Regions from separate parts of the Homo sapiens genome. Here regions 1 and 3 are each linked to region 2. The links are contacts of gene promoters, found by promoter capture Hi-C in blood cells and fetal thymus (Javierre and others, 2016). All regions are on one chromosome and are shown on one strand. The core of a region is centred on a gene start or on the middle of the fragment in contact, and the rest is flanking DNA. Distances in the headings are between cores, read along the strand shown. Region 1 holds the start of MEAF6 (MYST/Esa1 associated factor 6). Region 2 holds the start of MTF1 (metal regulatory transcription factor 1). Region 3 has its middle 3.2 kb from the start of GNL2.

Evidence for each region. The method cuts DNA at HindIII sites, captures the fragments that hold promoters and counts their contacts. A CHiCAGO score of 5 or more calls a contact.
Region 1: a contact is called between the fragment with the promoter of MEAF6 here and the fragment with the promoter of MTF1 in region 2, in 10 of 17 cell types (activated CD4 T cells, fetal thymus, total CD8 T cells and 7 more). The highest score is 10.9, in activated CD4 T cells.
Region 3: a contact is called between a fragment that was not itself captured here and the fragment with the promoter of MTF1 in region 2, in 10 of 17 cell types (naive B cells, fetal thymus, naive CD4 T cells and 7 more). The highest score is 8.6, in naive B cells.

The regions. Positions count from the first base shown.
Region 1 is chr1:37,512,286-37,516,202 of GRCh38, forward strand. MEAF6 (MYST/Esa1 associated factor 6) reads right to left here and starts at 2,481. Exons shown (of 7, transcript NM_001270875.3): 1 at 2,372-2,481; 2 at 1,138-1,253. The coding sequence starts at 2,461. RefSeq lists a silencer at 2,066-2,665. The HindIII fragment of the contact is 2,267 bases long and covers 1,350-3,616 here.
Region 2 is chr1:37,857,264-37,860,869 of GRCh38, forward strand. MTF1 (metal regulatory transcription factor 1) reads right to left here and starts at 2,329. Exons shown (of 11, transcript NM_005955.3): 1 at 2,268-2,329; 2 at 1-446. The coding sequence starts at 395. It overlaps INPP5B (inositol polyphosphate-5-phosphatase B), which reads right to left. Exons shown (of 24, transcript NM_005540.3): 24 at 3,434-3,606. RefSeq lists a silencer at 2,266-2,595. The HindIII fragment of the contact is 3,574 bases long and covers 1,542-3,606 here.
Region 3 is chr1:37,597,225-37,601,114 of GRCh38, forward strand. No RefSeq gene overlaps it. Among named protein-coding and RNA genes, the nearest start is that of GNL2, 3.2 kb to the left of the region's middle. The HindIII fragment of the contact is 1,664 bases long and covers 1,089-2,752 here.

The DNA of each region.
Region 1 (3,917 bases), core at 1,231-3,730, 340 kb before region 2:
GGAAAACCAGATGAAGGGTACAAGAGACCATTCTGCCAACTCCCTATGAATCTATAATTATTTCACAATTTAAAAATGTGAAATGTAAATATAGATGTGTGCTTATATTAATATATATTATAGAAAGTAAGAGAAAGCAAATGTCACAACACATTAACAATTTGTGAATATAGGTAGGAGGGTATCAAGTGTTCATATACTATTCTTCCCATTTTCCTATAATTTGAAGATTTTCTAAAAGTTTAGAAATTTTTTAAAAATAATATTACTAAGTAAGCAGTGGTACAGCTGGCACACAGGTATGGCAAAAATTGTGAGGGTCAGTTGGGCGTGGTGGCTCACCCCTTTAATTCCAACACTTTGAGAAGCTGAGGCAGGAGGACTGCTTGAAACCAGGAGTTCCAGGCCTGCCTGAGCAACAAAGTGAGATCCCACTTCTACAAAAAAAAGTTTTTAATTAGTCAGGTACAGTATGGTGTGCCTGTAGTCCCAGCTAATTGGGAGGCTGAGGTGGGAGGATCACTTCAGCCCAGGAGTCTGAGGCTGCAGTGAGCTAAGTTCGTGCTACTGCACTCCAGCCTGGACAACAGCGTGAGACCCTGTCTCTTAGAAAAAAGAAAAGTGGCCAGGCGTGGTGGCTCACACCTGTAATCCCAACACTTTGGGAGGCCAAGGCAGCAGATCACCTGAGGTCAGGAGTTCGAGACCAGCCAGGCCAACATGGAGAAACCTCGTCTCTACTAAAAATAAAAAAATTAGCCAGGCATGGTGGCACGCACCTGTAATCCCAGCTACTCAGGAGGAAAAAGAAAAAAAGAAAAGAAAAATACTGTGAGGGTAGAACTCATGACTGATTAAAATGTGTAAAAAATTTAATAGAATGCTATTGTATAAAGATACTGTATTTAAGCCTCACACAACCCTGTGCCATAGGCCCAACTTTCGCTATTTTACAGATGTGAGCCTTGTCTAAGATTATTCGGTGAGGCAGTGCCTGAGCCAGAGTCCAAGAGTTCAAGTCCAGATCACACCACTACTTTACTACTGCCTCCAGCAAAGTTGCCACTAAGAGCATACAGTCCTAAAAACAAACGTTACTAGGGCACAATAGGAACACTACAGGCTTTCGACACTCACTTTTGGTTGGTCAGATACCGATCCCAGCCACGAATAATATTGCCATACATCTGAGTGTCTTCCAGGTAGCTTCCCTCAAAAGCATAGATCTGTCGCTCCAAATTTGCCAATGTTTCCTGAGAGATGAAAAACAAGGACATGAATGATACCTTTTAAATGCAAACACTTAAGTCTGGCCAAAATGAAATCCTGATATTAGACTCGTAAACGCAAGCTTGCCCACACTAAACCACCCTGTGGAGAGATGGAAGATACGGGGAGGAGGAGCCGTTTAGGACTAAGACAGTCTAGACCTTTGGGGGTGATGGACCCCTGAATGTATAAAGCATGTCTCCAGAAAAATACACACACACGCGAAATTTTGCATATACTTTAGAGGATTCACGGAAACCATGAGTCAAGAGCCCAGGCTAACGCAGAACTTGGGCGATGTCCACTCCCACGCACAAAAGGTATCGCTACCAGGAGAGGGAAAGGTGAGCAGCCTTTCAGCGTCAACTCGCTCCCCTCCCCGCAGGCTCAAGAGAGGCCGCCGACACCGGGCTGCCAGTTGCTATGGAAACCTAGAAGGGCAGCTTCAGGTGAGAGGGGCCTCCCGGGTGCCCAAGCCGAGACGCGGGGGCAGGAAGAGCTTAGCCACCAGAGTGCATTGGGCCTTGGGTGCCTGTCACAATTCTGAATTCTCCGGAATGTGTTCTTCTCCCTCGCCTGTCACCTTCTAGATGTTCCCAAACACATCACAACCCTGTCTATCAAAAACCTCCATTCAACGGATCTACTCCCAGTACCAAAAAGAACACGCTCCCCACCAGCCTCCAAAGTCCAGACGGGGTGACTGGGTCCCCCTCCCACACTAGCCTCCTTCCCCACCCCCTCCCCGCAAAGATCACGGACTAGCCCGCCTCGCCCACCCCCGCGGCTCACTGACGCTCGCCCTTCCTAGCGCCCTCTCCCCGGGCCCCGGCACCGTCCTCCCTCCACGCCCCCTCCTGCGGCTGCCGCTTCCCCTCCCCCTCCCGCGCTCCCGGCTCTCTCCCGGCTCCGGATTCGCACAGCCGGGAAGCTGAACCGCCGGCGGGCCGCAGAATGCGCACCCGGCCTCAGGCCGCCGAGCACCCGGCCCGCCGCGCCGCGCCCCCGGAGTAACAAACGGCCTAGCGCGGCCGGGCTTGGGGCCTGGAGGCGGGGCGGGCGCGGAGCCCCATGCCGTGCAACCCCTGTCCTAGCCCCTCACCGCCAGCTCCTGCTTCCGCTTCACGAGCTCCGCCAGCTCCCGCCGGGTGTCCGGGATCTGCGGCGGCGCCGCCTTGTTGTGCATCGCCATGTTGGGCTGAGGCGGGCGGCGGCGGCGCGAGGTTGGGGGCGGTCCCTGCGCCGCCAGGGGGCGCCCCCCCGCTCTGCGCCTGCGCGCGCGGCTTCCGGAGACGCGTGCAGCGCCGTGCCGAGCTTCGCTAAGGCCGGGGCTCTCGAAGGTCCTTCTCGGAGAGCTCTAGAGATGCGGCTTCTGCTTTCTGCCGTTTCCTGCCCCTCGGCTGGCCGCCGGCTTTACAGACGCCACAAATCCACCGCGTCCAAAGCCTAGCTCGTCCTCAGGCCTCCGAGTCTCCTGTGCGCCCCGCTTCAGTCCACTTCAGTGAATGACTTTCACTATCCACCGAATTGCCTGCGTCAGAAACGCGGTTTTCCTCACTCTGCACCTGGAGTAAAACGCGATCCCAGGTCAAGCTCTATGGACTCGACTCCGGAAGAGCTCGCGAATCCATTTGCTTGTGCCTGCGCCTTCTGCCACCTCACTAGTTCATTCAGGCCCTCCCTGTTTGGGGCTACATTATTCCAGCGGCTTATTTCCACCTTTAGCCCCACTTAATCCACTATCCACAGTGGTGCCAGGATCTTCCAGAAACAAATGTTATCACTCCCCGGTTTAAAGTCTTTCAGTGGCTTCCCATTTTCCCAGTGCCCTTTGGAGAAACAAGTATGTGTAGTGGTTAAGGGCACAAAACTGGAGCGAGAACTACCTTGTTCAAAATCCTATCGCTACATCGATAAAGTGTGCTCCTTTGGGCAAATAACCAAATCTCAACTCCCTCATCTGTAAAATACAAGCAGTAATAGAATCTACCTAATACATTTGCTGTGAGGAGTAAATCACCTAATATGTGTAAGGGGTTTGGCAGGCGCCAATGACTGTGCAAGTACGAGTTCGCTTTTATCGTTAAGTCCAAGGTGTAAACGTTGTTTTCACTTGGCCCCTGTGGATTTCTCCGTCCTCAGCTCTCCATCTTTCACTGTTCTGCAGTTTCGCTATCATAAGTCTAAGTGGGATATTTTTTCTTCCTTTTGTTTTGTTTCTTGCTTGGAAGTCTTTGGATTTCTATAATATGTGGGTTGGTATCTTCCACCAGTTTTGGGAAATCGCAGTCATTTTTCTTCAGATGCCTGTCTCATTTCTCTCTCCTTCTGGAACTCGAACATAAGAAGCTTTTTAACCTACCGTCTATATTTTCCATCTTTTTGTCCCTCTGTGCTGCATTCTGAATAACTGGTTTCGTGTGCGGATCTTGTAACCTGCCATCTTGCTGAACTCCCTTACTAATTTTAGGGGGGGTTGTATAGATTCCTTGGAATTTTTACATAGATAATAATTTCATCTGCAAATAAATAGGGAGTTTTTTTTTTTCTAAGCTGAGTGCTTTTTCTTTTTCTTCCTTATTGTGCAGATTTCCAGTAGTCTGTTAAATAAAAGTGATAACATTAGACATCCTTGCCTTGTTCCCTGT
Region 2 (3,606 bases), core at 1,079-3,578:
GTTTCCGGACATTCCGACTGCAGAGTGAGGGTTGCACCTTCAATATTTCTTGGCATGGGTGTGGAACCAGGGTTTATTGTCAAATGAATCTGATCTGGTGAGATAATGTGCTGCACATAACCCTGGGACATTGCTTCATGATCTATCAGGTGAAAGCCCTCTTCACCCCCTACTAGAAAAGGCAAGTGTTCTCCGCACTGTCCGTCGTCATCTTCATCCTCCAAAGTGCCAGGGTCCTGCTCAATAAGAACAGTGGTCCTATCATAAACAGTTCCAGATGAGGAAGGCACCAGTCCGTTTTTATCCACAAACCTGAGCATTTTATCATCGGGGGTCAGCTCATCTTCCTCTGCCTCAAAGTAGATGATGTTGTTGTCTGGACTGTGTTCCCCCATGGTTCAGTTGTGCTCAGCCCAGTTGTGAGAAATGAAAACGTAATGACTTGTCTGCAACAGAACAAAGCCAGAGTTAGAGTCATACCACAAGACCGACGGACCTCCTCAGCAACCACAAGGCTCATTTTCCCTCTCACTTAAAGAGCAAGCCAAAGCAAATGAAAAACCATCCTTGGGAATAATTTTTTTATTTTAACTTTAAAACCATCAAGTCATTTTTAAAGAAAAGCAATGCCGACTGGGCGTGGTGGCTCACACCTGTAATCCCAACACTTTGGGAGGCTAAGATGGGAGGATCGCTTGAGGCCAGGAGTTTGAGATCAGCCTGGTCAACATAGTGAGACCCCCATCTCTAATAAAAAAAAAAAAAAAAGAAAAAGAAAGAAAAGCAATGCTTTTCAAAAACTGAATAAGTTCATAAGACCTTCTGAATACGCCTGTCAAACAATTTGAAACTTGGTCAAAATATTTAAAGGGGACAAAAGAGCAAACAGAACAGCAGCTGCTGAAAGGCTGAGTTGCTACAAATCTTAAGGGAAACTCCATCCATTCAAATATCCTCCAAATCAGACCACGAGGCAGTAAATGGTTTCATGCAGTTTATGGTAGAAGGAGCAAGGCTTTGGAGGCAGAGTCATCTACCTACAAATCCTGTCTTTGCCTTTTACTACATGGGTAACTTTTCTGTGCCTCATTTTTCTTACGTGCAAGGTGGGACCAGTAATTCCTGTTCTCTCAAAGTTTTTATAAGAAATAAAAGAGGCAACATATGTAAAGCACAATGTTTGGTAAATAGTAGAGGAACAAGTATGAATTCCTTCCCCCCTACCTAGAACAGATGTTTCAACCTTCTGGGTGGAAGGGCTATTCCTCAATCAGGCACAAACAACGAAGATCACTGTATCTATTTATGTCCTAAAACAATATGGTGTCAACAAGAAGTTATGGTTCTGTGGTGGGCTCTCGTCCCTGAATCAATTGAGTCTTATTATTTTTGTTTCTACAGCTCCTAGCATAGTACACTGATACTATGATAAGAGTTCAGGAAATGTCAGCTAAATGACTGAAAGACATGGCTACCTACTCTCTCGTGAAGATATACTATCTTGGGAAGATACATTCTCTTGAGAAAAATACCACATTTGAAGCTTTCATGTTCTGGAATAGTGATTCTTCCTTCATCTGCAAACACAGGCTCTACAAATGTGGGTTTGGCAGGCAGAATAGAGAATTTTAAAATAATCAGCACATCCCTTTTAGTTTTCAGTCTGGCTTTGCGCTTTATCTTTCTCTTCTGCTCTGGGTTAGAAAGTGAGCCTTTACTTAGTGGGATGGCTAGACAGTTACCAGAGACAGGCCAAAGGATTGGATCCGGGAGGTACCGGCCCGACCCCTAGCTCTGGCTTACGCAACCCCACAGATGTACATTTCGCTGCATCTGAGCAGAGAGAGAAGAGCACCGAGGGCCCCAGTGGGCTGCCCCGGCACCCTCGGCGGCAACGCGGAGACCAACTGTCCGAAACAAACAAGACCAGGAGGTTTGAGGGTAGCCAACGAGGAGTGCGAACAGAGCCCCCTTGAGAGGAGGCTGGGAAAAGGAACCTGTCTGGGATAGCCCCCAGCACAGGGCTACACAGAAAAATCCGAAGACAAGCTGGGGGTCTCCAAGCAAGGAGGAGAGGGGCAGGGTCCGGGTCTCCATGGAAACAGGGAAGGGGGGCTGGATACCCATCCCCATGGAAACGGAGAAGGGGTGGGGTCCCTATGGTGACCAAACTGAGGTCTCTATTGGGAAATGCTTCAGGAGGGAGCCTAAGTCCCGCGCCTCCCGGTAAGTCCCAAGCCCAGGCCGAGTCTAGTTTCGCCTTTTACCTCCGCGGCTCCCGGCAACGGCGGCAGCAGCAGCTTCTCCCCTCCCCAGCGGCACCATGATTGCCCCCACCTTCCCCTAACGTCACTTCCGCTTCCTCTTTCCGGAGGAAGGTGGGGACAGAGGATCCGCCCCTCCCTGGCGCCTCTGGTTGGCTCAGGTTGTCAGGGGGCTGAGCTGCAGCCTCCAATTGGCGAGCGGGGCACCGAGGGGAAGGCGCCCAGGAGGTGGGTTCATCCGCGTGGGGAAGCGCCCGGGGTGGCCACGCGGGGCCCGGAGGGTGTCGCCCTCGCGGCACCGGAGTCAAGGAGAAGGGAACGAATCCCCAAGGAAGAATCCGAAATGTCCTCAGCCAGGTTTGCGCTGACCGCCCTCGCCCTGGCAGCCACAGCCGCAGCGGGAAGGACCACAGTTGGCAGTCAGAACCCTGGCTCCAACCCGCCAGGGGAGCCTGGACGGCCGCGACGTTCCCGGGTTTCTCCTGCCGGGACCCCGGCCTTCCCTTCAGCACCCATCAAAGTTAACACAGGCAGGAGGCCCAGAAAGGAAGACAAGACCCCAAAGGCAGAACTAAGAGTATTCTAAGCCCAGCTGGAGAGGACGCCGCCGCCTCTTCCCCTTCTCACGCGCTTGCCTAGGACCCCCAGCTCCCTTCTCACGCGCTTGCCCAGGCTGGCGGTCCCAACTTTCTTCCCCTGCAAGAGGACGCGGCTACGGCGGGACTCATGCCCGGGCCAGTTAGCGCCACCTACCGGCCACTCCCTTCCTTTCACCGTTCACATTGTCCTGCTGGCCCGCGTCTTAAACCCATTTCACAGTGCCCAGAAGTAGTGGGCATTCGTACCCAGGAAGCGATTCTGCCTTCGTTATGCCCCTGTCCTTTCCAAATGCCTGGAGGATCTAGCTGTTAGATCCTCCCAGCTGCCACTGCCTGTTTTAACCATAAGCTGCTTCTCTCGAATATTCAGAGTGGGACAACTCCAAAGACCAGACCAGGGGTCAAGGGGTTCAGGTCAGTGCCATAACCATTTCTTGCTGGAAGTATGTGAATAGTGACTGGTACCCACCAGACTGCCAGGAATATGTCTCTTTGGCCCCAAGGCTTGAGCCACAAAATCCAGCTGCAGCGAACTGCCATCTCTTAAGACATAAAAACATACACAACCGCCACTGTTAAAAATACATTTATCATTAAAATATATTACACATGGAGACAGGATGCATCATATACAGTTTGGAAGACTTGCTGGCCCAGAAAATCCCACTTGTTTCACCGAACACTCATTTTTTCAGTGATTTTACATTTTATTTTTAGAGACGGGGTCTCCCTCTCTCACCCGG
Region 3 (3,890 bases), core at 671-3,170, 260 kb before region 2:
GTTGCCCAGGCTGGAGTGCAGTGGCCCGGTCTCGGTTCACTGCAACCTCCACCTCCCGGGTTCAAGCAATTCTCCTGCCTCAGCCTCCCAAGTAGCTGAGATTACAGGCGCATGGTATCATGCCCAGCTAATTTTTGTATTTTTAGTAGAGACGGGCTTTCACCACATTGGCCAGGCTGGTCTCAAACTCCTGACCTCAGGTGATCCACCTGCCTCAGCCTCCCAAAGTGCTGGGATTACAAGTGTGAGCCACCTCGCCTGGTCCCTCTCTCTTTTTTGGTACCTCAAATTGTCAGAAAATGGCCATCTTTGTACCCTCTGGATAGGCCAAAGAAGAGATGGTTAGGCAAGAGGAAGGGTGGATTCATGCAGTGTAGCTCATTTCATAAAAACAAACAATTTGTTATAAAGTGAGGTATTCTAATTGAGCAGGGGATGATTGAGTCTTTATTTCTCTGAGTTTGAAACAAACCCCAAAACATTCTCTTTAGAGCAAAAGCAGGCCATGTCATAGGCTAGAGCTGGAAATACCTTCTGTCCCTCAAGCTTCGCTTTTATTGCCCCAAGGGCAAGTATCATGAGATTAAATGCAGCTCTGCTGGGAAGGCCCTGACTGTGACCTGTGTTAGGGAAGCTCTGAGAGCTATTTGGAAAAAACTTCATGATCAGTGAAGATGCCCCCTTCCACCCCACACTGTCCCTCTGATCCCCAAAACAAGGATACCATAGCCTCCTCCCAGAGAGAAGATTCAGTTAATGTGTTTCTGATGCCTCAAGTTGGTGCAAACCAGAATAAACACGGATGGCAAAAATCAGCCTATGAGCTCATTCAGGCTTTGATCAGAGACATAATTTCATTATGAAATTTTGAATCAGGCTGTTGTGAAGTCTTGCCAAGGAGTTTCATTTTCCCAGATGATATGGTGGGTTGTTTCTCTCCTGTTCTCATACTCTGCTTGCATTTATCTTACAAACTTTCCATCTATTTTTATAATCTGACCCATCAATCCTTTTACAACAATATTTGCCGATCTCGACAACCAACTTCAATTCTACCAGCAGATAAAAAGCCTGATCAAGGTAAGTCAAGCTTAAGTTACTGGTTTGATTTGCCTGCCCTGCTTGCCGCATTGTAATGCAGTGACTATTTTTCACTCTCTTTTCTGATGTCATGCCAACTAGCAGAGGCAAGATACACCTCCAGGTCTACAGTTCCTCAGCTTTAAAACAGATGCAATAGCTTAACTACTCTGAAAGACTGCAATAAGATCATATGAGTTACAGTATATGAAAGCATCGCAGACATGGTACACATCATGCAGATGGGATGCTTTCTATTTTTCTTCTTTTTTTTTTTTTTTTTTTTGAGATGGAGTCTTGCCCTTTCACCAGGCTGGAGTGCAGTGGCATGATCTCAGCTCACTGCAAACTCTGCCTCCTAGATTCAAGCTATTCTCATGCCTCAGCCTCCCAAGTAGCTGGGATTACAGGCACGCACCACCATGCCCAGCTAATTTTTGTGTTTTTAGTAGAGACGGGGTTTCGCCATGTTGGCCAGGCTGGTCTCAATTTCCTGACCTCGAGATCTTCCCGCCTCGGTCTCCCAAAGTGCTGGGATTACAGGCATGAGCCACTGCACCGGCCAGGGATGCTTTCTATTTTTCTCAAAATCCAAGGTGAGCTACTCATCCCCTCAAATGTTGCTCCTGGTAACCACAGGTTTGTGTGAATGAGAAGACCTTAATGGATGGAGACTGGCTGGAAATGCCATGTTCTGGACTGGTGTCTTCACAGGAAGCAGACAATCCTGACCTTACTTTTTTTTTTTTTTTTTTTTTTTTCAGATAGAGTCTTGCTCTGTCACCCAGGCTGGAGTGCAATGGCACGATCTCAGCTCACTGCAACCTCTGCCTCATCAGTTCAAGCAATTCTCCTGCCTCAGCCTCCCGAGTAGCTGGGATTGCAGGCACCCACCAGGACACCCAGCTAATTGTTGTATTTTCAGTAGAGATGGGGTTTCGCCATGTTGGCCAGGCTGGTCTTGAACTCATGACCTCAGGTGATCCACTTGCCTCAGTCTCCCAAAGTGCTGGGATTATAGGCATGAGCCAGTGTGCCGGGCCCTGACCTCACTTTTATCTTCATTCTGTAAAAAGTTTATCACTGGGGTCTAATGGGCAAATAGCAGCAGCTTCTAAAGCAACATTTTTTAAAGTGTGGTCTGAGAACCACAAGCATCAGAATCACTTGGGGGATCTGTTTTAAAATGCTGGGCATGGTGGCTCATGCCTGGAATCCCAGCACTTTGGGAAGCAGAGGCAGGTGGATCGCTTGAGCGCAGGAGTTCGAGATCAGCCTGGGTGACATGGTAAAACTTTGTTTCTACAAAACATACAAAAATTAGCCAGGCGTGGTGGCTCAAACCTGTAGTCCCAGGTACTTGGGAGGCTGAAGCTGGAGAATCTCTTGAGCCTGGGAAGTGGAGCCTGCAGTGAGATCGTGCCACTGCACTCCAGCCTGGGTGACAGAGTGAGATCCTGTCTCAAAAATAAAATAAAATAAAACAAAAATGCAGATTTCTGGGTTTTATCCCAGAGCTTCCAAAATCAGACCATCTTGGGGGTGGGGCCAAGAGAATCTACATTTTAGCAAGCTCCTCAAGTGATTCTTGTATATACAAAAGTGAAGTCTTTTCCAAGAGTCACTCGGAGGCTTTCTGACCTGCTGACCAGAAGGCAGCCCTGGAAGATCAAGCTTCTTTCCTACCTATCTTAAATCATCTTGTTCTTCTTAGCAGAGCCAGGGTGAGGAAGGCTGCTGCAGTGTCTAATGCACTCTGAAAATATATATCTTGGCTCTGCCCCAAATGCCTTGATATTTATGCTGCAGCCGGAGGGTCGTTATCCTTTGGCAATGCTCATTTGTAAGGCCATTAGCTCTTAATTAGTGCCGGCTTGTTGAGTTGTACTTCCCAGTTGAACTGCTAGCAGAAGCTGCTCTTTTGGGGCCTCTTGTGTCTCTCCTCTGGCAAGCCCATGAAGCATTGACCCGTGCCTGCTGAGGCCAAGAGTTGGGCCCCTGGAATGGCCGCTGCCCAATGTGAAACAGTCCTAGTCCCCAAATGCTAGGTTCTGGGACTCTGGAAGAACAGAGAAAGGCTCAGAATATACATCTTCAGGATTTTGTTGTTTTGTTTCACTGATAGAAAACAAAAAAGTGAGTCCTTGGTTATACAACCTCAACAGTTTTACAAGCAAATTCAAGTATCAGAAAAGTAAAGTTCGGCCGGGCGTGGTGGCTCATGCCTGTAATCTCAGCACTTTGGGAGGCCAAGGCAGGCAGATCATCTGAGGTCAGGAGTTCAAGATCGGCCTGGCCAACATGGTGAAACCCCATCTCTACTAAAAATACAAAAATTAACCGGGCGTGGTGGCACACGCCTGTAAACCCAGCTACTAGGGAGGCTGAGGCACAAGAATTGCTTGAGCTTGAGAGGCAGAGGTTGCAGTGAGTCAAGATTTACACCAGTGCACTCCAGCCTGGGCGACACAGTGAGACCCTGCCACAAAAAAAAAAAAAAAAAAAAAAAAAGGAAAAGAAAAGAAAAGTGTATTAACTTAGAGCTTCATAGGCCAAGTTACCCTCAGTTTTCAGTCTAGGGTGTCTGGGAAATTCTTGGACAAGGATATAGCAAACTAGTGGGCTTGCTACCTGTAAAAATGGCTAGGAGACTCACCTCTGGGAACCCCAAGAAACTTTTCTTCATGGTCACCACTTCTAAGTGGGAAAAACAGTCGTATTAGTCTTGGCATGCATCTCACTGCTGGGTAGGAGCTCTTCAAAAAGATCCCCAGATTAAGCTTTGGAAAAATAACTAGAAGCATTTCGCT